Regions from separate parts of the Homo sapiens genome. Here regions 2, 3, 4, 5, 6 and 7 are each linked to region 1. The links are contacts of gene promoters, found by promoter capture Hi-C in blood cells and fetal thymus (Javierre and others, 2016). All regions are on one chromosome and are shown on one strand. Each heading gives the region's core, a stretch centred on a gene start or on the middle of the fragment in contact. The rest is flanking DNA. Distances are from core to core; before and after follow the strand shown. Region 1 holds the start of OR7G3 (olfactory receptor family 7 subfamily G member 3). Region 2 holds the start of COL5A3 (collagen type V alpha 3 chain). Region 3 overlaps OLFM2 (olfactomedin 2). Region 4 holds the start of UBL5 (ubiquitin like 5). Region 5 overlaps LOC124904635 (a long non-coding RNA gene). Region 6 holds the start of ZNF562 (zinc finger protein 562). Region 7 overlaps ADAMTS10 (ADAM metallopeptidase with thrombospondin type 1 motif 10).

The links. The method cuts DNA at HindIII sites, captures the fragments that hold promoters and counts their contacts. A CHiCAGO score of 5 or more calls a contact.
Region 2: a contact is called between the fragment with the promoter of COL5A3 here and the fragment with the promoter of OR7G3 in region 1, in 1 of 17 cell types (total CD8 T cells). The highest score is 6.3, in total CD8 T cells.
Region 3: a fragment that was not itself captured here is called in contact with the fragment with the promoter of OR7G3 in region 1 in 3 of 17 cell types (erythroblasts, naive B cells and total B cells); the score reaches 8.2 in erythroblasts.
Region 4: the fragment with the promoter of UBL5 here is called in contact with the fragment with the promoter of OR7G3 in region 1 in 4 of 17 cell types (total B cells, neutrophils, M0 macrophages and 1 more); the score reaches 6.3 in total B cells.
Region 5: a contact is called between a fragment that was not itself captured here and the fragment with the promoter of OR7G3 in region 1, in 5 of 17 cell types (total B cells, monocytes, naive B cells and 2 more). The highest score is 8.7, in total B cells.
Region 6: a contact is called between the fragment with the promoter of ZNF562 here and the fragment with the promoter of OR7G3 in region 1, in 1 of 17 cell types (naive B cells). The highest score is 6.7, in naive B cells.
Region 7: a contact is called between a fragment that was not itself captured here and the fragment with the promoter of OR7G3 in region 1, in 1 of 17 cell types (M0 macrophages). The highest score is 5.3, in M0 macrophages.

What each region holds. Positions count from the first base shown.
Region 1 is chr19:9,125,326-9,129,091 of GRCh38, reverse strand. It overlaps OR7G3 (olfactory receptor family 7 subfamily G member 3), which reads left to right and starts at 2,142. Exons shown (of 1, transcript NM_001001958.1): 1 at 2,142-3,080. The coding sequence starts at 2,142. The coding sequence ends at 3,080. The HindIII fragment of the contact is 3,002 bases long and covers 1-2,852 here.
Region 2 is chr19:10,009,048-10,012,813 of GRCh38, reverse strand. It overlaps COL5A3 (collagen type V alpha 3 chain), which reads left to right and starts at 2,310. Exons shown (of 67, transcript NM_015719.4): 1 at 2,310-2,516. The coding sequence starts at 2,429. The HindIII fragment of the contact is 8,603 bases long and covers 1-3,766 here.
Region 3 is chr19:9,873,478-9,877,243 of GRCh38, reverse strand. The region is part of intron 1 of OLFM2 (olfactomedin 2); the gene reads left to right. Among named protein-coding and RNA genes, the nearest start is that of PIN1, 40 kb to the right of the region's middle. The HindIII fragment of the contact is 304 bases long and covers 1,822-2,125 here.
Region 4 is chr19:9,825,877-9,829,642 of GRCh38, reverse strand. It overlaps UBL5 (ubiquitin like 5), which reads right to left and starts at 1,725. Exons shown (of 5, transcript NM_001048241.3): 1 at 1,659-1,725; 2 at 1,250-1,316; 3 at 968-1,051; 4 at 769-806. The coding sequence starts at 1,305. RefSeq lists a silencer at 1,609-1,915 and enhancers at 1,959-2,008, 1,419-2,143. The HindIII fragment of the contact is 5,434 bases long and covers 1-2,269 here.
Region 5 is chr19:9,802,062-9,805,827 of GRCh38, reverse strand. LOC124904635 (a long non-coding RNA gene) reads right to left here. Exons shown (of 3, transcript XR_007067134.1): 3 at 3,412-3,766. Among named protein-coding and RNA genes, the nearest start is that of FBXL12, 15 kb to the left of the region's middle. The HindIII fragment of the contact is 560 bases long and covers 1,296-1,855 here.
Region 6 is chr19:9,672,918-9,676,683 of GRCh38, reverse strand. ZNF562 (zinc finger protein 562) reads left to right here and starts at 1,584. Exons shown (of 6, transcript NM_001130031.2): 1 at 1,584-1,669. RefSeq lists enhancers at 378-1,377, 1,640-1,699, 1,378-1,877, 1,416-2,615. The HindIII fragment of the contact is 670 bases long and covers 1,259-1,928 here.
Region 7 is chr19:8,592,949-8,596,714 of GRCh38, reverse strand. It overlaps ADAMTS10 (ADAM metallopeptidase with thrombospondin type 1 motif 10), which reads left to right. Exons shown (of 26, transcript NM_030957.4): 9 at 130-173; 10 at 303-408; 11 at 496-642; 12 at 812-953. Among named protein-coding and RNA genes, the nearest start is that of ADAMTS10, 16 kb to the left of the region's middle. The HindIII fragment of the contact is 664 bases long and covers 2,185-2,848 here.

The DNA of each region.
Region 1 (3,766 bases), core at 893-3,392:
ATCACTGCAAGCTCCACCTCCCGGGTTCACGCCATTCTCCTGCCTCAGCCTCCTGAGTAGCTGGGGCTACAGGCACCCACCACCACGTCCGGCTAATTTTTTGTATTTTTAGTAGAGACGGGGTTTCACCATGTTAGCCAGGATGGTTTTGATCTCCTGACCTCGTGAACCGCCTGCCTCAGCCTTCCAAAGTTCTGGGATTACAGGCTTGAGCCGCCGCGCCCAGCTTGTTTGTGTATTTGTTTTAAGAGGCAGAGTCTTGCTCTGTTGCCCAGGCTGGCATGCAGTGACCCTATGAAAGCTCACTGCAGCTTCCAACTCCTGGGTTCAAGTGATCCTCCCAACTCAGCCTCCCAAGTTGCTGGGACTACAGACACGTACCACCGTGCCTGGCTAATTTTTAATTTAATTTAATTTTTAAAAAATGTTTACTATAGATGGGTCTTGCTACTTTGTTCAGGCTGGTCTCAAACTCCTGGCCTCAAGCGACCCTTCTGCCTCAGCCTCCCAAAGTGCTGGGATTATAGGTGTGAGCCGCTGTGTCTGGCCAGGAACTCAATTTGTGAAGCAAAGGGCTGAGATGGGCTCACTGCACCATTCAACTGTTCACATGCTGTGATTCTATAATATGTTTGCCCCAACTCCTGAGTCATCATTACAGAATTTCCTTAACTTATGGGTTTATGAGAACAGCAGGCTGATGTTTTGACATTGCCGGCATACATCAATTCTTTACTTCCTGCTTTGGGGGCCCCAGAATCAATTTCTCAAGAATCTGGATAAGCCAGAAGGAACAGGAAAGGTTTGGCGCTGACTCACACAGGACTCCTCCAGGAATCAGTGCCAAGGCTCAGGGGTTGCCTGAACCAGGGGCTGCACCAGTAATAATAGGAAGAGTGGGTGCAGTGGCTCAAGCCTGTAATCCCAGCACTTTAGGAGGCTGAGGCGGGTGGATCACTTCAAGTCAGGAGTTCAAGACCAGCCTGGCCAACATGGTGAAACCCTATCTCTGTTAAAAGTATAAAAATCAGCCAGGTGTGTTGGCACACACCTGTAGTTCCAGCTACTTGGGAGGCTGAGGCAGGAGGATCACTCAAACCCTGGAGGAAGAGGTTGCAGTGAGCTGAGATCCCACCACTGCACTCCAGCCTGGGTAGCAGAGCGAGACTCCATCTCAAAAAAAAAAAGAAAAGAAAAAAATAATGGAAAGAGGGTCTGATGCATGGCTTACTGTTAAAATTTTCTTTATTAACATTATCTGTGATACAAATGAAAGACAGATGAAGGCAAATAAAAATAGTGGGAGGGGCTTATGCTGCTAGATAAAGAGGGCTTAATTTTTATTTTCACAAACTGTAATGAGAAAGGGAAATTGGTGGGTGAGAAAGACACTGATAGGGTACCTAGGAAGGAAGTAAAGAACAGGCTGGGCATGGGGGTTCATGCCTGTCATCCCAGCTATTTGGGAGGCTGAGAGAGGAGGATTGCTTGAGCCCAGGGGGATGAGGCTACAGTGAGCTATGATCATGCCACTGCACTCCAGCATGGATGACAGAGAGAGAGAGACCCTGCAAAGAAGAAAGAAGGAAAGAAAGAAGGAGGGAAGGAAGGGAGGAAGGAAGGAAGGAAGGAAAGAAAGAGAGAGAGAGAGAGAAAGGAAGGAAGGAAGGAAAAGAGAGAGAAAGAAAGAGAGGGGGGAAGGAGGGAAGGAAGGAAGGAGAAAAAGAGGAGGGAGAGAGGGAGGGAAGGAGGGAGGGAGAGAGAGAAAGAAAGAGAAAGAAAGGAAAGGAAGAAAGAAAGAAAAAGGAGAAAGAAAGAAAGAAGGAAAGAGAAAAGAAAGAAAGAGAAAGAGAAAAAGAAAGAGGAGGGAGAGAGGGAGGGAGGGAAAGAAAAAGAAAGTAAGAAGAAAGAAAGAAAGAGAAAGAAAGAAAGACGGAGGGAGAGAGAGAAAGAAAGAAAGAGAGAGAAAGAGAAAGAGAGAGAGGGAGAGAGAGAAAGAAAGAAAGAAAGAAAGAAAGAAAAAGAAAGGAAGGAAGGAAGGAAGAAAGAAAGAAAGAAGGAAGGAAGGAAGGAAAAAAGGTCTATAACTTATAACTGGTTTGGTTTTGATAATATTGACAAGATCAAGACTCATCAACAACATGAAAGCAGGAAACTTCTCAGACACTCCAGAATTCTTTCTCTTGGGATTGTCAGGGGATCCGGAGCTGCAGCCCATCCTCTTCATGCTGTTCCTGTCCATGTACCTGGCCACAATGCTGGGGAACCTGCTCATCATCCTGGCCGTCAACTCTGACTCCCACCTCCACACCCCCATGTACTTCCTCCTCTCTATCCTGTCCTTGGTCGACATCTGTTTCACCTCCACCACGATGCCCAAGATGCTGGTGAACATCCAGGCACAGGCTCAATCCATCAATTACACAGGCTGCCTCACCCAAATCTGCTTTGTCCTGGTTTTTGTTGGATTGGAAAATGGAATTCTGGTCATGATGGCCTATGATCGATTTGTGGCCATCTGTCACCCACTGAGGTACAATGTCATCATGAACCCCAAACTCTGTGGGCTGCTGCTTCTGCTGTCCTTCATCGTTAGTGTCCTGGATGCTCTGCTGCACACGTTGATGGTGCTACAGCTGACCTTCTGCATAGACCTGGAAATTCCCCACTTTTTCTGTGAACTAGCTCATATTCTCAAGCTCGCCTGTTCTGATGTCCTCATCAATAACATCCTGGTGTATTTGGTGACCAGCCTGTTAGGTGTTGTTCCTCTCTCTGGGATCATTTTCTCTTACACACGAATTGTCTCCTCTGTCATGAAAATTCCATCAGCTGGTGGAAAGTATAAAGCTTTTTCCATCTGCGGGTCACATTTAATCGTTGTTTCCTTGTTTTATGGAACAGGGTTTGGGGTGTACCTTAGTTCTGGGGCTACCCACTCCTCCAGGAAGGGTGCAATAGCATCAGTGATGTATACCGTGGTCACCCCCATGCTGAACCCACTCATTTACAGCCTGAGAAACAAGGACATGTTGAAGGCTTTGAGGAAACTAATATCTAGGATACCATCTTTCCATTGATGTCTCAGCTTCTTGGGCTTACACTGCTGGGATATGTCAGGGAGAAAGAAGTAATGAGAAGTCTTGAAAGCCTGACTAATGTCTTTGGGGTTTTCTGTTTTTGTTTTTGTTTTTGTTTGTTTGTTTGTTTTTTGAGATGGAGTCTCGCTCTGTTGACCAGACTGGAGTGTAGTGACGCAATCTTGGCTCACTGCAACCTCCGCCTCCTGGGTTCAAGCGATTCTCCTGCTTCAGCCTCCGGAGTAGCTGGGATTACAGGCACGTGCCACCAAGCCCAGCTAATTTTTCTATTTTTAATAGAGACGGGGTTTCACCACATTGGCCAGGATGGTCTCGAACTCCTGACCTCAGGTGATCTGCCCGTCTCAGCCTCCCAAAGTGCTGGGATTACAGGCATGAGCCACTGTGCCCCACCTGACCAATGTCTTTGAATACATGAGACCAGAGATCAGATGGTTCAGGGTGATAGTTTTGGAATCGGACCACGTGGACTTGAGTTCTTTTTGGATTGATTGACTGACTAATTGATTTTTGAGACAGTCTCTCACTTTGTTGCCCAGGCTGGAGTGCAGTGGTGTGATCACAGCTCACTGCTGCCTCGAATTCCTGGGCTAAAGCGATCCTCTGGACTCAGCCTGACGAGTAGCTGAGACTGCAGGTGCATGCCACCACACCTGGCTTTTTTT
Region 2 (3,766 bases), core at 1,061-3,560, 880 kb before region 1:
TGGGATTACAGGCGTGTGCCACCACACCCAGCTAATTTTTGTATTTTTAGTAGAGATGAGGTTTCGCCATGTTGGCCAGGCTGGTCTTGAACTCCTGACCTCAAGTGGTCCAGCCGCCTCAGCCTCCCAAAGTGTTGGGATTACAAGCATGAGCCACTGAGCCTGGCCGAGTATAAATTATTTAGGGCTGGGGAGAGTTTCTGTGAAAGTTGGGGGGAATTAGTGTCTGTATTCTGGGTGAAGAATCTCTGATTGAAGGGAGAGAGTGAGAGAAGGAGACAGAGAATGTGGATCCAGAAGTGTTTCATAGAGGGAAGGGGTGTAGAACTGTCAGAAGATGTAGTTAGACTATAGGAAGAACTTCCAGCAAGGCAGGGCAGGGCAGGAATTTTGTGAGAGTCTTTTAGTTGGAGAAGTCTCAGCCTCAGATGTCCCTGGGGTGGGAGGAGGCACAGCTTACAGAGATACCCTCTCCTCCTCCCACCCTGGGGGGCCCCCATCTCCCCCTCAGGCTTGATGGGGCCCCAACCCCTCCTCTTCAGGGACACAGAGACTCTTTGTCTGGGGAGTCAGAGGCTGGGAGGGAGGCACTGCTTGCGTCTCCCTCTTCCCCTGGGGCGGAGGTGGGGGAAGCAGGGTTCGGGGAGCAGTTCAGGGCTCAGAATACGCCTCTTGGTTCCTCCCCTCCCTGGGGAAACACCCTCACATCCTGCGTGTCTGCGCTTGTCCAATTGCATAAAAGCTCTATTTGACCTCATGGGGGCCTCTTCATGCTGGAGGTGGGGGTCCCAGCACGGTGAGGGGGGCCTCTGCCTCATCCCAAGAATGGCAAGAATCCACCCCTTCCTCCCCAGTGGCTGTGCGTTGCTTTGCGACAGGGACAGATTCCCACCACCTCCCACCAACGCGCCGGCCTTTTTTTTTGAGACAGACAGAGTCTTGCTCTGTTGTCCAGGCTGGATCGCAGTGGCACAACCTCAGCTCACTGCAACCTCCACCTCCCGTGTTCAAGTGATCCTCCCACCTCAGCCTCCCAAGTAGCTGGGACTACAGGCGCCAGTCACAATGCCTGGCTAATTTTTGTATTTTTAGTAGAGATGGGGTTTCGCCATGTTGGCCAGCTGATCTCTAACTCCTGGACTCAAGCGATCTGCCCGCCCCAGCCTCTCAAAATGCTGGGATTACAGGCATGAGCCACCGCACCCAGCTCAGACTCCCTCATTTGGTGGGGATTTGGGATTGAGGCCGGGGCATCCACTGGAGACCTGAGTTGGGGCGGGGGGAGATGAGGGTTAGGGATGGAGATGAGACCCTTTATTTGAGGAATCAAGAATTTGGGGAAAGTGAAAACTGTGTTTTGGGATCTGTGGTGAGAATTTGGGACCAGGACACGTGACTTAGGGATTTGAGTGGACAGATGAAGGTTTGGAGTAAGGCTGGGGACCCCATTTTGGGATCTGGGGTGAGATTTGAGGTGGGATGAGGACCCGTTAGGGACTTGAAGGAAAGGCTTTGGGGCTGAGGCTGGTACCTCCTATTGTGCAGCTGAGGGACTGAGGATAAAGCAGGTAGGTGAGTGAGAGTTCGGGGTGAGGTTGGGACCCCAGTTGGGGGCCTGAGTGAGGCAGAAAGGACTTGGTGCCAGGGGCGGTGGCTCATGCCTGTAACTCCAGCGCTTTGGGAGGGCAAGGCCGGAGGATCGCTTGAGACCAGAAGTTCAAGACCGGCCTGGGCAGCATAGCAAGATCCCGGTCTCTACAAAATATACATATTTTAAAATTAGCTGGGTGTGGCAGTGTGTGCCTGTGGTACCTGCTTCTCAGGAGGCTGAGGCAGGTGGATGGCTTGAACGCAGGAGTTGGAGGCTGCAGTGAGCTATGATTGCACCACTGCACTCCAGCTTGGGTGACAGATCAAGACCCTGTCTCCAAAATAAAATGTAAAAATAATAGAAAATAAAAAAGATTTGGTATAAAGCTGCACCTCCTCCTAATTCTAGGGCCTGGATGGAGGCTGAAGTCTTGAATGAGGTTAAGGTCTCCTTTGAGGGGATCTGCTAGGCGGAAAAGGTTTGGGGTAAGACTGGAACCCTCGAACTCTAGGGCTGGGTGGGAGTGACCCTTCTCCTCCACAGTGGGGTGGGGCAGGAACAACCCAGCTCCTGGCGCTGGGCTCCACCCCAGCCAGCCAATCAGCCCTCAGCACAAAGTTTCCCAACTTCCCAGTCCAGCTGTCAGCGCTCCCCCTCCAAAAAGCCCCGCCTGGCCAGGCGCTGGAGCGCAGGGCGAGGCCAGGGCGGGGTCTCGGGCAGTTTCCCGCGGACCCTGAGAGGAGCGGCCGCCGCGAGTGACTGCACCGAGCCCGAGAAGTCGCCGCGCCCCGCAGCCGCCCCGACTGGTTCCCCGCCTTGCCCGTGGGCCCCGCCGGGATGGGGAACCGCCGGGACCTGGGCCAGCCGCGGGCCGGTCTCTGCCTGCTCCTGGCCGCGCTGCAGCTTCTGCCGGGGACGCAGGCCGGTGAGCCGGGAGGGAAGAGATGGGACCCAGGGTCCACGACTCAGAGAGGCTCTAAAAGAGCGAGGGGTGGAGGGGGGTGGAGGGGCGTGGAGGGGAAGGGCGTGGGCGCCGCGTGCGGCCCCGGTGTGATGTGGGCGCATGAGTATCTGACTCTGGGTGATTTGTGGGTGTGACAGCTCGGGGTGGGGGTGGGGATGTGTGAGTGCGTTTTCTGGCGAGCGCGTGGGAATGCATGCAATGTGCAGGTGTGTGCATGTGTGTATGTGTGTGTAGCATGTGTGTGCATTTGGAGTGAAGTTGCGTATGTGCTTGCGTGTGGAGGTTGATGGTGATAGTGTGACTGTGAGTGACAGGGCAGTGCTGGGACGGTGTGTATTGCGACAGGTGAGTATGCACTTGTGCTCTTGTCTATGTGCTGATTTTCGAGGGTAACCGTGTGAGTGGTTATGCGTGTGATTGTGTGTCTCTGAGTGCCGCTATGAGGGGTGTAGTTATGATTTTTGGGTGCAAATAATTGCCCATGAGGATGAAGGTGGGTGGGGACAAGTATTGGGGGGTGCTCTTCGGGAACCCACAGTTTCCTTTGCGTCTCTTTAAATGGCTTCACCTCATTCTCCCTTTTCCTCCTCTGCCCCAAATTGGCGAGCGCCCATCTCCTCCCCTCCCTCCCTGTTGCCCCCTCCCCCACCCCGCGGTCCCCAGAGCCGCGATCAGCACCATGGACAGGGCTTCGGGGAGGGCCGCGGTGAGGGGCGAGACGGGGCGGGGCGCAGGGCGGGGCAGGAGTGGAAGTTGCTCCCCCCCTCCCCACCCCAGCTGCTGGAGCCTTGGGTGTTTTTCCCGAGGAATTTCTCAGGAGCCCCCAAGGGGTCCCGGGGGCCGCCGGATGGGTGAGTCAGCGCTGACGCACGCCCAGCTGCGCGCATCTGGCTGGGCGCCCTGTCCCGCCCCTCAGGGTTCAGAGTGGGGGGCGCTTCGGGAGTCAGGGGATGGCGTAGCTTCTCAAGTGTTGGAGATGGGGCTTCCCTGATCTGAGAGACCCTAGACTAGGTCCTCCTGGAAATCCCTTTCTAAGGTGAGCTCAGTCTCCCAACACACACACACACACACACACACACACACACACACACACACACCACAGCACACTTCTTACTTTGGAGTCCAGGAAGGTGCCTGTCCATATGGTTAATCCCTGATTGGACTATGCCGCATTCCCACGCTCACACATCCACATGGTCATGGAATCTTAG
Region 3 (3,766 bases), core at 724-3,223, 750 kb before region 1:
TTTTTTTTTTTTTTGAGATGGAGTCTCACTCTGTCGCCAAGGCTGGAGTGCAGTGGCACCATCTCGGCTCATCGCAACCTTCACCTACCTGGTTCAAGCGATTCTCATCCCTCAGCCTCCCGAGTAGCTGGGATTACAGGCGCCCGCCATCATGCCCAGCTAAATTTTGTATTTTTACTAGAGGCAGGATTTCACCATGTTGGCCAGGCTGGTCTCGAACTCCTGGCCTTAAGTGATCTGCCCCCCTTGACCTCCCAAAGTGTTGGGATTACAGGTGTGAGCCACCGCACCCAGCCTCTGAAGTAGCTATTCTTCTGTTTCTTTACTTCTCTAATAAACTTGCTTTCACTTTAAATAAATAAATAAATAAAATGGATTACGTTTCCAACACATGAATTTTGCGGGGACACATTCAAACCATAACATTACGTTAAGCCATTCTGATATATTAACAACCACCTCATGACATCAGTACTATTCTTAGCTATATACTCTAACTGGGGGAACGGAGGCACAGGATGGTTAAGTCAGTAGCCCAAGGTCACACGGCAGACCTGAGGCTCGAACCTAGGAGACCCTTAATGACCACGTCCTCCCACCTCCACTGGGGGAATTGAATGCATTTGAGACTCATTTCTTTGAAACCCTGGAATGTGTGTTGGAGGTGTAGCCAAGGGATAAAGGGTTTGGACCCAGAGTGGACTTGCCACCCGCAGGGGCGCATGGGGACCTAGCAGGAAAGAGCCCTTGGAGGTGGGTTTTCAGGAGTCCTGGTACCTGGCTGTCTGTTATTGGCAGGTTGATCAATGTCACCTCCTGGCTGTGCTGTCCAGCCTTCGAGGCCTCCCTCCAGCCGCTGCCTGGGGGACTCGCAGCAAACACTTCCATTTTGTATAGGGGTGTCCCTGGCTATCGGTGTGAAATGCCTCAGCCAGCCATGGAAGTTAAATGTCCCCCATGGCGACCTTTTCCACACGCGGACGGATTGATTTCAGAAATCCATCCCCGGCCAAAGCGCCCAGCCCCAGCCCCTACCACGGGCGCTGATGGCTGCAAATTTATATCCAGGCCAGAAATTGAATTCCTGTAAGTTGAAGGAACTATCTGAAAAGCTCACCCAGGCTCATTTTTACGTCTGAAAAACTTCAGGCAAGAGATTAAATTGGGGCCAGTGTCTCCCAGCAGTAGGGACCTCGGTGGCGGGGAGATGACCTCGCTGAAGACAGCTTCTTTAGATTCTCTGCCTTCAGCTTGGCCTCCTGGGGCTGAGAAATAAAAAGCAGTGAGACCTGCAGGCCTGCATGGCTAAAGGGATTCCCACTTCTGACCAGCTAATGTTAGAAAAGGGACATGCTCTGTGTACCCAAGGCAGGCTTTTGGTCCCCGTGGTAGCTATTGAGCTATTCAGAGGGACAGGAAATAAAACTGCTAATTCAGGCCAGGTGCAGTGGCTCATACCTGTAATCCCAGCACCTTGGGGAGGCCGAGGTGGGAGGATTGCTTGAGCTCAGGAGTTTGAGACAGGGCGATACCCTGTCTCTGTGAGAAAAAACAAACAAAAAACAAAAGAAAAACAACAACAACAAACAACCAGATGTGCTGGTAAGTGCCTGTGGTCCCAGCTACCCGGGAGGCTGAGGTGGGAGGATCACCTGAGCCAGGGAAGTCGAAGCTGCAGTGAGTCGTGATCGTGCCACTGCACTCCAGCCTGTCTCAAAAAAAAAAAAAAGCTGCTAATTCATCTTCATCCCCGGCCAGGCCCCTGCACCAGCTCCTAAGGCCACCTCAGTCCCAGCAAATTGGCGAGGTTCTAATTAAGCTTCCTTGGGCTGTGGCAGAGAGGACATCAGAGTCTGTGGATCATTCCAGAACCCTCGCTCTTCCCTGCCCCCTGCCAGAGGCATGAAGGCTGGGGAAGGAGAAGCAGATAAATCAAGTGACAGCTCCGTGAAGGAAGAAACCCCATCTTGCTAGAAAGATCTCTCTCGCCTGCCTTGAAAAAATGAGACTGATGCAAATGCGGCTGCTTCTCTTTGGTACAAAAGCCCTTAAATATTAAAGAAATGAATCCTTGATGTCTACAAAGAAAGGATCAAAAACAAATCTTTCTGAAAGGAGAAAAGCTTTTATTTCGCCGTGAACTCTTCTAGATCTAGCCTCTGGCAGGGATGCCTGCGGAACAGGGAGCACAGGAAGATAAAGCTCTCAGTGATGGCCATTCAATATTTGTTCATTTAGGAAGCGTCTGAAGCAGCTACTGCATTGGGTTACAGGCTGGGGAAACGTCCAGCAAAGTGAGGCCACAGTTCCTGCCCTCAAAAGCCATTAGGGGACGGGTGCAGTGTCTCATGCCTGTAATCCCAGCACTTTGTGAGGCCGAGGCAGGAGGATTACTTGAGCTCAGGAGTTCAAGACCAGTCTGGGCAACACAGCAAGACCTTGTCTCTAAAAAATAAAATAAAAGACTGGGTGCGGTGGCTCATGCCTGTAATCCCAGCACTTTGGGAGGCCAGGGTGGGTGGATCACTTGAGGTCAGCAATTTGAGACCAGCCTGGCCAACATGGTGAAACCCCATCTCTACTAAAAATAGAAAAGTTAGCCAGGCATGGTGGTGCACACCTGTAGTCCCAGCTACTTGGGAGGCTGAGGCAGGAGAATCGCTTGAACCCAGGAGGTAGAGGTTGCAGTGAGCCGAGATGGCTCCACTGCACCCCAGCCTGGGCGACAGAGGGAGACTCTATCTCAAAAATAAATAAATAAAATAAAAGCCGGTGGTGGCTGGGCATGATGGCTTATGTCTGTAATGCCACCACTTTGGGAGGCTTAGGTGGGAGGGTCACTTAAGGTCAGGAGTTTGAGTCTAGCCTGGGCAACATAGTGAGACCCCCATCTCTCTTAAAAAAAAAAAAAAAAAGGCCAGTGGGGCATTCTCCAAAACTCCCTGGCCAGTAATCCTCAAAACTGTCAAGGTCAGAAAAAACAAGACAGAAACGTCATAGACCAGATAAGTCTAAAGACATGTGATAACCACTGAGTGTAACGTGGGATCCTGCATTAGATTCTGGAACAGAAAAAGCACTCAAGTGGGAAAACTGGGGAATTTGAATAAAGTCTAGAGTTTAGTTAATAGTAATGGATGCACGGATGTTGATTTCTTAGTTGTGACAAGTGTATCATGGTTATGTAAGATGTAATAACAGGGAAGTCAGGATGAGAGGTACACAGGAGCTCTCTGTATTATTGTTGTAACTTTTCTGTAAACCTAAAATAATTCCAAAAGTAAAAGTTGATTAGGTAGGCATGGTGGCCCACACCTGTAATTTCAGCGCTTTGGGAGACCAAGATGGGAAGATCGCTTGAGGTCAGGAGTTCGAGACTAGCTTGGGAAACATAGTGAGATCCTGTCTCTACAAAAAAAAAAAAAAAAAAAAAAAAAAAAAAAAAAATTAGCTGGGCATGATAGTGTACATCGGTAGTCCCAGCTACTTGGGAGGCTAAGGTGGGAGGATTGCTCGAGTCTGGGAGGTTGAGGCTGCAGTGAGCCATGATCACACCAATGTGGGACACGGCCTGGGGGACAGAGCAAGACCCTATCTCAAAACAAAAATAAAAATAAAAAAAGTATCAGGGTGTGGTGGCACACACCTGTGGTCTCAGCTACTCCGGAGGCTGAAGCAAGAGAACTGCTTGAGCCTAGGAGGCTGAAGATGCAGTGAGCTATGATCATGCCCCTGCACTCCAGCCTGGACAACTGCTTGAGACCCT
Region 4 (3,766 bases), core at 476-2,975, 700 kb before region 1:
GCACCTGTAATCCCAGCTACTTGGAAGGCTGAGACAGGAAAATCGCTTAAACCTGGGAGGTAGAGGCTGCAGTGAGCCAAGATTGTACCACTGCACTCCAGCCTGGGCAACAAGAGCAAAACTCCATCTCAAAAAAAAAAAAAAAAGTTTCTGTTCCTTCTAGGCCAGGCACAGTGGCTCACGGCTATAATCCCAGCACTTTGGGAGGCCGAGGCGGGAGGATCACTTGAGGCCAGGAGTTTGAGACTAGCCTGGCATACATGGTGGAACCTCATCTCTACTAAAAATACAAAAACTAGCAGGGAGTGGTGGCACACACCTGTAATCCCAGCTACTTGGGAAGCTGAGGCAGAATTGCTTGAACCCGGGAGGTGGAGGTTGCAGTGGGTCAAGATCGTGCCACTGCACTCCAGCCTGGGCGACAGAGCCAGACTGTCTCAAAAAAATAAATAAATAAAATAAAAATTGTAAAAAGTTTCTGCTCCTTTTGCACAATAGATATGCCTGAGTCTCACCCCACCCTGACCTACTGTCCAGCACTCAGGTGGAGGTCAGTAATAAATATTTTGAACTTGAAGTCAAACTATTTCACCAACCACTCTCCTCCCCAACCAAATAATTACCTAGCTCCCATTTTCTAAGTGCTCACCATGTGCCACGTATTAAGTTAAACACTTAATATGCATAAGCTCATGCAGACTTTAGTTTTGAACAGATAACCGAGGCTGGGTATGTAGATGCTTCCTCAAAAAGTCACACAAAGGATACAGTCCCCCAGAGACACGTGGTCCTTAAAAATCGTGTACCTAAGAAAAAGAGACATTTCAGAGATAAGGCTAAGGAGGCTCTTCAGTCTGTAGGCCAAATGAGGTAGCCAAGCCTAAGCAAAGGGCTGCCTGCAGCGCTCCCCCAACCAAAACCTTCCGGCCTAGTCCAGTCCACCCAGTGGCTCTACCGCTGCACTCACCACTTCTTCAGGACAATCTTGTTCCAACGGGTACCAGTTTGGGCTGCAATCAGCTTCTTAAGGTCCCCGATGGTATCATCCGTGCTGGGCGCAGAGCAGTTAAGGCAAATGGAAGCGGTAGAACGAGGAAGAGGACATTCTAGGGCAGAATACCATCTGCCAGGACCCCATCCGCCCCCTCTCCCGGGTTTAACTAAAACCATCCGACAACACAGATTGAGTTGCCTGCCTCACGCCAAGCACCCCTGCGGGTACCACTGCCTCTCGGCTGCCAGTGGATACTTGCATTTAACGCGGACCTTCTTCCCCAGACGGTCGTTGCAAACAACCTCGATCATCCTAGCTGGAGCTACACAAAGCGGGGGGTGGGTGGGAGGCAGCAAAGTCAGAGCTTCAGGCGTCTCCCAGGCCCAGAAGCCCCAGCCTACAAGTCTCCCAGTCCCAGGCCCTAAAATTCCAGGTTACTGAGCCTTCCGTTCTGCCCCCAACCCCCCGGACTCGAATACTCCCAGGCCCCAAGTCCCCTGTCCCAGGGCCGCGAACCCCGGGGAGCCGCGCCTCCGCCCCTTCTCGCCGCCTGAAAGCCCTGCCACAAAACTCCCTGGCCTCACCTCCCACCGACCCCAGACCCTGGGTGGCTGGGTCGCGACAGCTTTCTCCGACTCCGAGCCTCTCCGCTTGACCCCCTCACCTCGAATCGCCTCGAACCTGCCGACGCCACCAGCTCCTCACCCGAGCGCTGAACCCCGGTCGCAGTTAACGCTAGGAACCGGAAGCGGAAGTTAAAGTTCGAGGCCGGAAGCCCTGCCCCTAGCCAGGGGGTGTGGTCAACACTGGGACAAGTTCTTCCGGGTCTGCAGTCTGTGGTGTGTTTGCTGTTCCCAGGTACGGTTTCGGTGTCCCAAGGCTTGACAGGTGTCGCGCCTGTGGTAGGCGCGCCGGGTAGAGAGGGGGGCCTCGGCGGGTTTGTGGCCAGGGAAGGGGCGTGGAGCGAGAGTCAGAGGTCAGGCGCCGGCGCCCAGCTCGTTTGAAGTCATTGTTTGTTGCAGGGAGACTCGGTCACATGGTGGGGACGCCAGAGGGTCCCGGGAGTAGGGGTAAGCTCCTGATCCTGAGCCCGAAGCCTCTTGCAGCGGCAACTAGGAGCAAGGGCGGAGGGTGGGGGTGGGGGACGAGTTCTGCAGTCATCCCTTCTGACCCCCTGGGTTCATTCAGGGCTGGGCTTGGTGAGCATTTGGCTCACCTCTTCCCTCTGGCCATCGCGTTCCCCCGGGATACGGACTCCAGTCAGTAGGCGAAGCTTGATCCTAGAGTAGACTCTACGCTGCCCAACAGCTGCTGTTACCGCATGGTGCCGGACAGTTCCAGGCTCTTGGTGTCCTGAAGAAAGATTTGGACCAGACACACAGAGATGGCAAAGCTGCAAGTTTATTAAGCACAGTATTCCACTCTCGGAGTGGGGAGAGCGGACTGACCTCTGCGAGATAAGATCAGCCCCAGCTTGGTATAGTTTGGGTCTTTTTTTTTTTTTTTTTCTGAGACGTAGTCTCGCTCTGTTGCACAGGCTGGAGTGCAATGGCGCGGTGCCGGCTCACCGCAACCTCCGCCTTCCGGGTTCAAGCGATTCTCCTGCCTCAGCCTCCCGAGTAAGTAGCTGGGATTACAGGCGCCCGCCACCACGCCCGGCTAATTTTTGTACTTTTAGTAGAGATGGGGTTTCACCTTATTGGCCAGGCTTTTTTTCTCTTCCCAAGGCTGCCTAATATCTAGCCAGTGTCTACCTTTTTGAATGATAGGTGTGTTGCTTACTTTGGCCCCTGTGTGCTTGAGAGCCGCCTCCATTCATGATATGCCGTCCATATGCATGAGCGCTAATGAGCTGGTTATCCTTATCATGTTAAGGATACTTTTTGTCTTTAATGCGCGTGCTTATGCCTAAAGAGCTGCTCCTTACTGGTTTGGTCCTGATTTCCCCGGCCGTGGGATTTTTACTGTTTTTTTTTTAATTTTATTTATTTATTTATTTATTTATTTATGGAGTCTCGCTCTGTCGCCCAGGCTGGAGTGCAGTGGCGTGATCTGGGCTCACGGCAAGCTCCGCCTCCCGGGTTCACGCCGTTGTCCTGCCTCAGCCGCCTCCCGAGTAACAGGGACTACAGGCGCCCCCCACCACCCTCGGCTAATTTTTTTGTATTTTTAGTAGAGACGGGGTTTCACTGTGTTAGCCAGGATGGTCTCGATCTCCTGACCTCGTGATCCGCCTGCCTCAGCCTCCCAAAGTGTTGGGTGTGAGCCACTGTGCCCGGCCTTTACTCAGTTTTTAATCTTCCTTTTGTTTTGTCTCCTCAGCTTCTGCCATTTATCTTGCTTCTTGCTGGGTGAGCAAGAAGGGGCGGGTGCCCTTTCACCTTGCTTCTGCTCTCTGCTTTTACGTATTTTACCCTTTATCCAACTTTTAATTCCCTTTGCTATTCTTCTGCCTCATTTTCCCTATTCTCCTTTCTCACTGCCAGTCACCAACCTTAAATGCCTGCGAGGTAACTGGAAACATTGCACATTTGCACAATCTCCTGCAGCTGTATCTTTGGGGAGCACTTTGTACCAGATTCCAGGTTTGTGAGGGCTGGTGGGACAAGGACCGTCCTTCCTCAATTCAGTCAAACAATTTGTAAACCAAAAAGTATCTGAGACAGGTCTCAATAAATTGACAGGTTTATGTAGACAAGGTTAAGGACAAGCCTGGGAGAAAAGGAACACAAAACCCCAGGAACAATCTGTGATCCGTGCTTTTTTCCAAAT
Region 5 (3,766 bases), core at 326-2,825, 680 kb before region 1:
CAGCTAATTTTTTGTATTTAATAGAAATGGGGTATCACCATGTTGGTCAGGCTGGTCTCAAACTCCTGACCTCAGGTGATCCACCCACCTTGGCCTCCCAAAGTGCTGGGATTACAGGCATGAGCCACTGTGCCCCACCTACTTTTTTTTTTTTTTTTTTGAGACAGAGTCTTATTCTGTCCCTCAGGCTGGAGTGCACTGGCCCAATCTCGACTCACTGTAACCTCCCTCACCTGGGTTGAAGCAATCCTCCCACCTCAGCCTCCCAAGTAATTGAGACTACAGGTGCACACTACCATGCCTGGTGGTTTTTTGTTTTTTTTTGTTTTTTGTTTTAAGACATAGGGTTTCGTCATGTTGCCCAGGCTGGTCTTGAACTCTTGGGCTCAAGCCATCCGCCCACCTTGGCCTCCCAAAGTGCCGGGATTACAGGCATGAGCCACTGCACCCAGCCAGGATTTCTACTTTATTTACTGTTCTTGTGTAAGAACATATACTCGCCATAGATCCTGCCCTTGGACCAAAGCAGCCTTGATGTTATTGTATAAATTACAGGCTATGACACATATCACATTCTTACCTGTCTGGAGGGTTAACTTGGCCTACACATTCTTTAGGAAAAAAAGAAAAAATTTTTTTTCGAGACAGGGTCTTGCTTTGTTGCCCAGGCCAGAGCGCATCATGGCTCATCTCAGCCTTGACCTCCAGGGCTGTAGTGTTCCTTACCCTCTCAGCCACACAAGTACCTGGGACTATAGGCACATGCCACCATGCCCAGCTAATTTTTCTTTTTTTGTAGAGATGGGGTCTCACCATATTGCCCAGGCTGGTCTCAAAGTTTTGGGCTCAAGCGATCTGCCTGCCACAGCCTCCCAAAGTGCTGGGATTACAGGTGTGAACTACTCACCATGCCCAGCCCCTACAGCTTCACTGAGGTATAATTAACATGTAATAAATTGCACATATGGCCGAGCGCGGTGGCTCACGCCTGTAATCCCAACACTGGGAGGCAGAGGCAGGCGGATCACCTGAGGTCGGGAGTTCGAGACCAGCCTGACCAACATGGAGAAACCCCGTCTCTACTAAAAATACAAAATTAGCCGGACGTGGTGGCACATGTCTGTAATCCCAGCTACTCGGGAGGCTGAGGCAGGAGAATCGCCTGCACCTGGGAGGCGGAGGTTGCGGTGAGCCGAGTTCACACCATTGCACTCCAGCCTGGGCAACAAGAGCGAAACTCCATCTCAAAAAAAAAAAAAAAAAAAAAGTTTAAATTTACCTATAGCGTGGAAGCTTCCTGCTTTGAGTTGTCCTGCTTTTCTGGACCAAGCCAATGTATTTATTAAATGTGTTTGATTGATGTCTCATGTCTCCCTAAAATATATAAAACCAAGCTGCACCCCAACCACTTTTGTCACATGTTCTCAGGACATCCTGAGGGCTGTGTCGTGGGCCATGGTCACTCATATTTGGCTCAGAATAAATCTCTTCAAATATTTTACAGAGTTTGACTCTTTGTCAACCATTGCCTTTGCAAAAATAATAATCAGGACAGTCGAGGTGGCTCACGCCTGTAATTCCAACATTTTGTGAGGCTGAATGAACTCCAGAATGGGCAGGTCATTTGAGCCTGGGGAGGTCGAGGCTGCAGTGAGCTGTGATTGCACCTCTGCACTCTAGCCTGGGTAACAGAGTGAGACCCTGTCTCAAAAAAATATATATCAGAAAATTATGACAGTGAAAGAGATCTGAGCCAATCCACCCCCCATCTTCCCTTTCCCTTAATATTTCCTGGGCTATTGGGCTGAGGTAACTTTAAGAAACATTTAGGCTATAGTTTAGGTGATAATAAGCTTTGCCTAAAACTCAATCGCTTTGGTAAAACTAATGGGGAGCCATCAGCAGGAGAGGAGCCTGATTCCTGCAAAGGCGCAGAAATGTATGTCAGCCACTATTCCAGAGGTTATGAGATATGCAACTTCCCCAATTACTCCTGCAAATAACACCACTATTGCAGAACCCCAGATTGGCCTTTGGAGATACCCTTTCAGGTTTTATTGCATGTCTGACACCTAACACTCCTCATGGACCCGTCAACCCTGCTCCTATGGCCCCACCCAAAATCGATTCAGCCTGTAGGAGGAAGGCTTCGACCCCCCTATGATTGCATCTGCCCCAACCAATCAGCAGCAAGCACCTGTTACTCTGCCATCCCCACCCGTTCCCCCAAACTGTCTTTGGAAAACCCCTAACCTAGGAGCTTTGAGATGATTTGAGTAGGAACTTCGACTCCCACGTGGCATGGCCAGCCTCATGTCCACTAAACTCTTCCTTTACTACAATGCCATTGTCTTTCTTTATGCAGTGGGCAGGAAGAACCCTCCGGCAATTACAGCTTGAGCCCAGGAATTCGATGCCAGCCTAAGCAATGTCGACGAAAAGCGTCAAACTCTGTAAAATATTTTAAGAGATTCATTCTGAGCCAAATATGAGTGACCATGGCCGGTGATACAGCCCTCAGGAGGCCAGGAGAACATGTGCCCAAGGTGACTGGGGTGCAGTTGGTTTTGTACATTTTAGGGAGACATGAGACTTCAATCAAATACATTTAAGAAATATATTGGCCGGGCGCGGTGGCTCACGCCTGTAATCCCAGCCCTTTGGTAGGCCGAGGTGGGCGGATCACATGAGGTCAGAGTTCGAGACCAGCCTAACCAAGATGGTGAAACCCCGTCTCTACTAAAAATACAAAATTAGCCGGGTGTGGTGGCACGCGCCAGTTATCCCAGCTACTCAGGAGGCTGAGGCAGGAGAATCGCTTGAACCAGGGAGGCGGAGGTTGCAGTGAGCGGAGATGGCACCACTGCACTCCAGCCTGGGTGACAGAGCGAGACACCGTCTCAAAAAAAAAAAAAAAAAAAAAGGAAAAGAAATACATTCATTTGTTCCAGAATGGCAGGACAGCTCAAACCGGGAGCTGGGGTGGGGTGGGAGTGGGGATTCCAGCTTATAGGGAGATTAAAACTTTTTTTCTTTTTTTGAGAGGAGGCTTGAGGTTGTGGAGACCCAAGTTCTTTTTTTTTTTTTTCTTTTTTCTTTTTTGAGATGGAGTCTCGCTCTTGTTGCCCAGCCTGGAGTGCAATGGCACCATCTCGGCTCACTGCAACCTCCACCTCCCGGGTTCAAGCGATTCTCCTGGCTCAGCCACCAGAATAGCTGGGATTACAGGCGCCCGCCACCATGCCCGGCTAATTTTTTTTTTTTTTTTTTTCGGAGACGCAGTCTCGCTCTGTCGCCCAGGCTGGAGTGCAGTGGCACGACCTCAGCTCACTGTAACCTGCGCCTACCGGGTTCCAGCAATTCTCCTGCCGCAGCCTCCTGAGTAGCTAGGATTACAGGTGTGTGCCACCACGACCGGCTAATTTTTGTATTTCTAGTAGAGACGGGGTTTCGTCATGTTGGCCAGGCGGGAGACCCAAGTTCTTATTTCCAGAGGAAGCCTCCAGGTACTAGACTTCAGAGAGAATAGGTTGTAAAATGTTTATCCGACAGACCTGGGGGCGTGGCTTCCAATGAAGACCAGCCCCAGAAGGCCGGGCTGGGAGACTGCGAAGTCGGAGGGGTTGAGGGGACTTCAGGCAGAGTGGGTGGAGCAAAGGAGAGGGCTCAGGCTTGGGGGCGGGACTTGGGTGGGTCCTCCATTCTGGTTGGCCAAGCCTCTATGTCCCAAATAAAAGTCTCTACCTTCCCGAGAACTTATTACAAT
Region 6 (3,766 bases), core at 335-2,834, 550 kb before region 1:
AGCTGGGCATAGTGGCAGCCACCTGTAATCCCAGCTACTCAGGAGGCTGAAGCAGGAGAATCACTTGCACCCAGGAGACGGAGGTTGCAGTGAGCTGAGATTGCACCACTGCACTCCAGCCCGGGCAACAGAGTGAGACTCCAGTCTCAAAAAAAAAAAAAAAAAAAAAAAAAAGTAAAAAGAAAACGCAATGGAAACAGCAGGTTCTATAAAATAAAGAATGAAAAAATAGGCTGGGCGCGGTGGCTCACGCCTGTAATCCCAGCACTTTGGGAGGCCGAGGCGGGTGGATCATGAGGTCAGGAGATGGGGATCATCTTGGCTAACACCGTGAAACCCCGTCTCTACTAAGAATACAAAAAAATTAGCTGGTTGTGGTCGCGGGCGCCTGTAGTCCCAGCTACTTAGGAGGCTAGGCAGGAGAATGGTGTGAACCCAGGAGGCGGAGCTTGCAGTGAGCCGAGATTGCACCACTGCACTCCAGCCTGGGGGACAGAGAGAGACTCCGTCTCAAAAAAAAAAAAAAAAGAAAAAGAAAAAGAAAAAATAAAGGCCTACAGAAAGAATGACTGAATGGAAGAGACAGACCATGCCATCTATCACTGGCAGGTTTAATATGGAAGAATCATGGAAAGGCTCCAGGAACATGAGGAGCGGCATACAAAAAAGCTTGACACACACACACACACACACACACACACACACACACACACATATATATATATTTTTTCTTTTTGAGATGAAGTCACGCTCTTGTCCCCCAGATTGGAGTGCAGTGGCGCAACCTCGGCTCACCGCAACCTCCGCCTCCCGGGTTCAAGCGATTCTCCTGCCTCAGCCTCCTGAGTAGCTGGGATTACAAGCGCCTGCCACCACACCCAGCTATTTTTTTGTATTTTTAGTAGAGACGGGGTTTCAGCATGTTGGCCAGGCTGGTGTCAAACTCCCGACCTCAGGTGATCCGCCCGCCTTGGCTTCCCAAAGTGCAGGGATTACAGGCGTGAACCACTGGCGCTTGGCCTTATATATATATTTTAATAGAGACAGGGTCGAGCCGGGCACAGGCCTGGGCAACAAGAGTGAAACTCTGTCTCAAAAAAAAAAAAAAAAAAAAAAAGAAAAGAAAAAAAAAGACACACGGTCTTGCTATTTCACTCAGGCTGGTCTGGAACTCTTGGACTCAAGCTATCCACCTGCCTTAGCCTCCCAAAGTGCTGGAATTACAGGCGTGAGCCACTGAGCCCGCCCAGGATAAGCTTTGGAGGAGCATCCTCTGGGGTGCGTCCCATCCCCCATCCCCGCCTTTCCAACCCGTCTGGGCACCTGAAACGCGGGCTAGGCCGGGTCCCACCTCTAAACCGCCCCCAAATATGGGCCCCACCCCTCGCCCACGGTTCCGTCCAGAGGTCCGGTTCTAAACTCATCTTTTTCTCTGAACCCGTTTCTGCATCCCGCTCCCTGAGCCAACCCCAGGCACTGTCCGGCACCCACCCAGGAGGAAACTAGAATTTCTTTGTCCTACGTGCCTGAAACTCAAGCCCTGGAGCCCCACCCGGCCGGAGGCTCGGAGCGGAAGTGACGTCAGTGTGCCACCGCCATCTTTACCGGCTGTGGCTCAGCATGGTCAGTGCCGTTTAACCTTTATTGTGGTGGAGTCCACCCCGCTGTGGTGAGTTCTACCTGCTTGGGGGTCCGGGACATACCAGCGGGGCGGCAAAGGAAGGATTGGGCGTGGTCGCCCAGGAGCCTCTCAGATCCGCCTAGTTTCACTCGCTTTTCTAGGGGCTGTCAGTCCTCCTGGTGCGGCCTCTGGCCAGTTCCGAGAGGCCGCACAGTCCGTCTGGCTGCGTCGGGAAGTGTGTTTGTTCCGCCTCCGCCGGGTGTTTTCTTGAGTACTTTCATCCGCTGTGCTCCTCTCTTGAAAAGCTTGGAAAGCAACCTTTGGGAGTTTTTTTCTTTCCGAAAGGAAAAGGATTTCTGCCCTTCTGGTGAGGTTGGCTCTGGCCCCGCATTCTCCCGCGTCTGGAACCTATCTCTTCCGGCATGTTCCTGGTGAGCAACGGCGGAAAAATGGTTTCAAGAGGGCTGTGACTTCCATTTATTTGCTAAAAAATGTCTCATCTGAGAATCTGGCGTTGTCTTGATGTCCTTTACTTTTTTTTTTTTTTTGATTTGGAGTCTTACTCTGTCGCCCACGCTGGAGTGCAGTGGCACGATGTTGGCTCACTGCAACTTTCACCTCCCGGGTTCAAGTGATTGTTAGATATGAGTTTTAAATTTCTTTTTAAAAAATCAATATGTCAGTATGTTTAATTCTTTGCCTTCTACTTTTAAACTTCTCCGTAAAGCAACCTTTTTCGATCACCTGCTCCACCCTGACTCATTCTGATTACCTGCTCCACCCAGACTTATTTCGATTACTTACTCCACCCTGACTCATTTTCCACCCTGACTCATTCCAATTTCCTGCTCTGTTATAACCATTTTCCCCAACAAACCACTCACCCTGTCACTCTCTTTAAATTAGCCAATTGGAATTAGTTTAGCCTGTGGGGTCTAACCCTAGCCATCGGGGAAGGACAAAGCGGCAGGGGCCACTTTCCTCAAGAATAAGAACCCCTTCCCCTCCCTTGTCCTGGTGTGTGCTCACCATTGCTCCATCTGTGAGGGCACACCCTTCTGTAGAAGTAAATTGCCTTGCTGAGAAAAGAAAATGTTATATTTGAGTGCTTTTTTTTTGTGGCATGAAAACTTTATAACATGATTCACCTGCCTCAGCCTCCCGAGTAGCTGGGATTCCAGGCGTGCACCACCACACCTGGCTAATTTTTTATATTTTTGGTAGAGATGGGGTTTCACCATGTTGGCCAGGCTGGTCTCGAACTCCTGACCTCAAGTGATCCACCCGCCACTTATTTTTGACACATTACATTCAGATGGAAAAAACATAGTTGTTTAGGGTGTGCCCGTTTTTGTATGTAAATATGAACGCGTGTAGACTAAGCCTTTAGTTTTTAATTTTTATTTTCTTGCAGGTTATTTTTTTTCTAATTGTTACCAGCTGCAAGCCTTTCTACTTAAAGCCAGGCCAGATGCACTGGCTCACACCTGTAATCACAGCACTTTGGGAGGCAGAGGCAGGCGGATCACCTGAGGTCAGGAGATCCAGACTAGCCTAGCCAACATGGTAAAACCCTGTCTCTACTAAAAATACAAAAATTAGCCGGGCTTGGTGGTGGGCCCCTGTAATCCCAGCTGTTGGAGATAAAAAAATAAAACGCTGGGTGCTGCAAAGTGAAACCAGCACTCAGGCAAAAGTTTTCTCAGCAACGCAATTTATTTCTATAGAAGGGTGAGTCTCGTGGATGGAGTGATGGCGAGAGTACACCAGATAAGGGAGGGGAAGGGGTTTTTATTTCTAACGCTGGGTCCCTACTTCTGTGTCTCTCCCCCGTGGGTTAGGGTCAGACCGCAGAATCTAAACTGACCCTATTGGCTATCTGTGAATATTTTCCCCAAATAAGGAAGGGTAGGGGGATGTGTGAGTCATGATGGTGGGATGTGCAGTTTCAAAGAGTGGAATAGCTGCAGAATGAGTAGCCAAGGGAACAGATGTGAGTTATTGATTAGAGCTGATGGGAAGGTTGTTTACAGTAACTAGAGGCAAGGAGGCATGGAGAACAGGAAAGTTGAGTTTGAGAACAAAGAACAAGGAAGTTTACAGGCTGAACTTTTGAAGAGAAATTCAGAGAAATATATTGTATCT
Region 7 (3,766 bases), core at 1,267-3,766, 530 kb after region 1:
ATGCAGCTTCAGGTGAGAGGCAGATGGCGCCTCCAAGGCAGGACTCAACCCCCAGAGCTGGGCATGGTGGCATCAGCAGGGCTTAGGGAGACAGCCCAGCCCCCTCACTGACCCTGTCTCCTTTTACAGCTATGACATCTGCATCTACAAGAACAAACCCTGCGGCACACTAGGTACCCGAGCCCCGTAGGTTTCAGGCGCCTATGAAGGCAGTGGGCTGGGGTGAGACCTGGCAGGTGGATGGGGCCAGCCAGCACCGTCCTGAGCCTCCCAGCCCCATCCCCACATGTCCGTCTTCCCAGGCCTGGCCCCGGTGGGCGGAATGTGTGAGCGCGAGAGAAGCTGCAGCGTCAATGAGGACATTGGCCTGGCCACAGCGTTCACCATTGCCCACGAGATCGGGCACACGTGAGGCCAGGGCACACAAGAGGGGGAGGAGGGGAGGAGCTGGGCGGGTCCCTCAGCGCCCGGCAGAGCCGACACCCCTTTCCCCAGATTCGGCATGAACCATGACGGCGTGGGAAACAGCTGTGGGGCCCGTGGTCAGGACCCAGCCAAGCTCATGGCTGCCCACATTACCATGAAGACCAACCCATTCGTGTGGTCATCCTGCAGCCGTGACTACATCACCAGCTTTCTAGAGTGAGGATGCACCTGGGTGTCCCTCAGAGCGGGTCACACTCATGGTGGGGCAGGGTACACGGGAGACGATAGAAATCAGGGATGCTCCCTGGGACCCCCATCCAGCTGAGGCTCCTGAGCTCTTGATTTGCAGCCACCTAGCATGACAGTTGCTTTTCTCTCGAGGCAGCTCGGGCCTGGGGCTCTGCCTGAACAACCGGCCCCCCAGACAGGACTTTGTGTACCCGACAGTGGCACCGGGCCAAGCCTACGATGCAGATGAGCAATGCCGCTTTCAGCATGGAGTCAAATCGCGTCAGTGTAAATACGGGGTAGAGAGAGTCTTCCTGCTTTCCTTCCTGGGAGGGGAGGGGGCCGCTGGGGCTGGGGGAGGGAACTCCACCAGGGCACCCACCTGGGAAGTGAGGGGGTGGGAGAACCGGGAAGGGGGGTGAGGTGAGCCCCCATGGTGACCTGGGAGGACAGAGGTGCATGGAGTGTGCAAAATGTCCTAAGCAATCAGACAGTGCTTGGGAACAAAAATGGGATCACCTGCTTCTCCAGACCCCTGATTTGAGGGCTGGGCTGGGGGGCCAGCTTCTGTCTGGCACATCACACCCCCTGTGGGCTACAGCAGGATCAAAGTCTCAAGACCTCTCACGGGGCAGTTTTTAACTAAACATCCAGTCCTGACGGAAATAATTTCCCTGGGGATGAGCCATCTTTCCTACTTGGCAAAGAACTAGACAGAACCTTCCAGGGACTCCCTGTCTGGAGGAGCTCTGAGCCTCCTGACCTCTCCCCACCCTTTCCTGAGGTTTAGATTCCCAAAGCCCCATTCGTGCATAGAGAAGGGCATTGGGGGGCAGGAGGTTCCACTCCCAGCTCCCCCCAGGAAGCTGAAGACCTGCTGGCTTCCTGCTTCAGCCACCAAGGTTCAGCCAGGATCTGCTCCTCCTCTGCCCACCTGCCTCGATTCCCTAAATGCACCCCTAAGCTCCTCACAGTCTCAGCCCTAGGGGCCCAGGTTCAGCCCCAGTTCTTCACACTATCACAACTCAAACGATCAGAGTTTTTGTGATGCCATGTTAATGCAAAGCAGAGGGCAAGCAGCTGCCAAATTGCCCTCCCTTCATTCCACTGCAAGACAGAGACAAACCCTGGAACAATTTCTATTTCACTGACATTCCACCCTTGACACCCCCCAACATCCTAACTTAGCTGGTAACTGCAGCACCCTCTAAGGAATTCCTAAAGAATTCTGAAGCTACTCCTCAACATCTGCTGTGACCCAGGTATCCTAACAATGATCATGGTGTCTGACATTTACTGAGCTCTCACTATGGGCTAAGCATGTGCTGTGTGTCACCATCTAAACTCCTGACAATCCTGCTAGCCCCCACGTTACAGAGGAAGGGACTGAGCCATAGCATAGGGAGGATGACTTGTCCAAGGCCACAGTTTGAGACCATGACAGAGCTGGGATTTAAATCCAGGTCTCTCATGACTCTCTAAATTTTACAAAGGGGCAGGGGAGGGGAGGAGCTGTCAAAATATCAAGCTTGGGCTGGCACTGGCTATATGTTGAATTGAGCCTTCCTTTTAGTTTTTGAAGGAACATCTTTCAGGCCATCTTGGCAAAGGGGGATTTATTTACTAAATGTGAACTGGTTAATATATGTAAAGGGTTCAGCCTGGTGCCTGGTCCAGAGATAGTGGTGGTCATTGTTACCCCATAATGGCATTGGTGCAAGTCCTTTCTTATCTATCCTGTCACGTGCCTCATAGCCATTTATATAGGCAAGACAGGCATTAGGCTGCCCATCTTGTAGATGAGTAAACTGAGGCCCAGAGAGGGGAAATATATTGCAAGTTGGTAGCAGAATTGAGGTCTCTGCACAACTCAAATATGCCACAGTGCCTCCTTGTGGAGAGGAGGACAAAAGCAGAGCTGAAATCATTATCTTGAAGAGGTGTCAGAAGTGGGATTGCGACAGGACTGATGTGATATTTTTAGATATGGCCAAGAGGACACAGTCTGAGTTTTTAGCTGAGAAATGTCCTCTATAAGGCAGAAGGCAGAGATTCTAGAGGACCTTTGAGGGAGAATGTATTTGAGAACAACTCTTCCAGCTTCTTACATATGTACAGGTATCTCTCAGGGGCTGACCTAGGAAGGGTCCTTTCCTGTGGCCATTGATCGATCCAGTCCCACATCTGGAAAGCTTACAAGAATTGGGTTCAAAGCGGGGATTACACTTGATAATTACAGAAGGACCACCTACTTCTTAGAGGAAAGACGCTGGGAGGTTGCTTAGGATGTGGGCCAAGAGGGTCAGAGAGGACCACCTACTTTTTAGAGGAAAGACGCTGGGAGGTTGCTTAGGATGTGGGCCAAGAGGGTCAGAGATTTTGCTTCACCTGAACTCACTGGGGCTTCTCCAGGGATATTAACCTGGACTTTAAGAGTCAGAGTGAGTCCCTGGGACTAGTTCAGCCCATCCAGGATTCAGACGGGAAGAAGGTGGGGCTGATTTTTCACCTGGAGAAAGAGAGGCATGTCCCACACAGACCTAACTCGGCATTGTCCCCTCCCAAACTCCCACCCCTCCACATAGCTTAAAAGTGTTGGGGGCTTCTCCAGTTTAGATGGGGGAACAAAGAGAACCAACAGCTGGAAAAAACTAGAGATGAGGCCGTTGGCCTAGTCATCATCCAGGCCGATTTCTCAGAACCACCACTTTCTCTTCGGCTACTTTGCCCATCCCATAAAAGAACCCCAAATCCTTCCTGTTCATTCCTCAGCAGTTCCCACGTTTCCTTCCAGAAACTCAGAAGGCACCAGGAACTGAATTGCAAAGTTCGTTAGAGCACAGACTCTGAATTAAAGAGCTGGGTTAAACTCCAGGCTATTCCCTTAGTAGCTGTGTGACCTTACCTGTCTGAAGCTTGGTTTTCTCCCAGTAAGATGGGGTAGTACTGCCTAAAGAGGTATATGGCATGTATAAAGTGCTCCATAAATGGAGCTTATTGGGAGAGTATAAGTCACAGGCCATGCCCCGCAAGGGGATGCACGAAGACCCACCGCGAGCCAGGAAGGGAGCACCGGGCTCTCTGCTCTGGGACCGGCAGTGAGCCGGACATC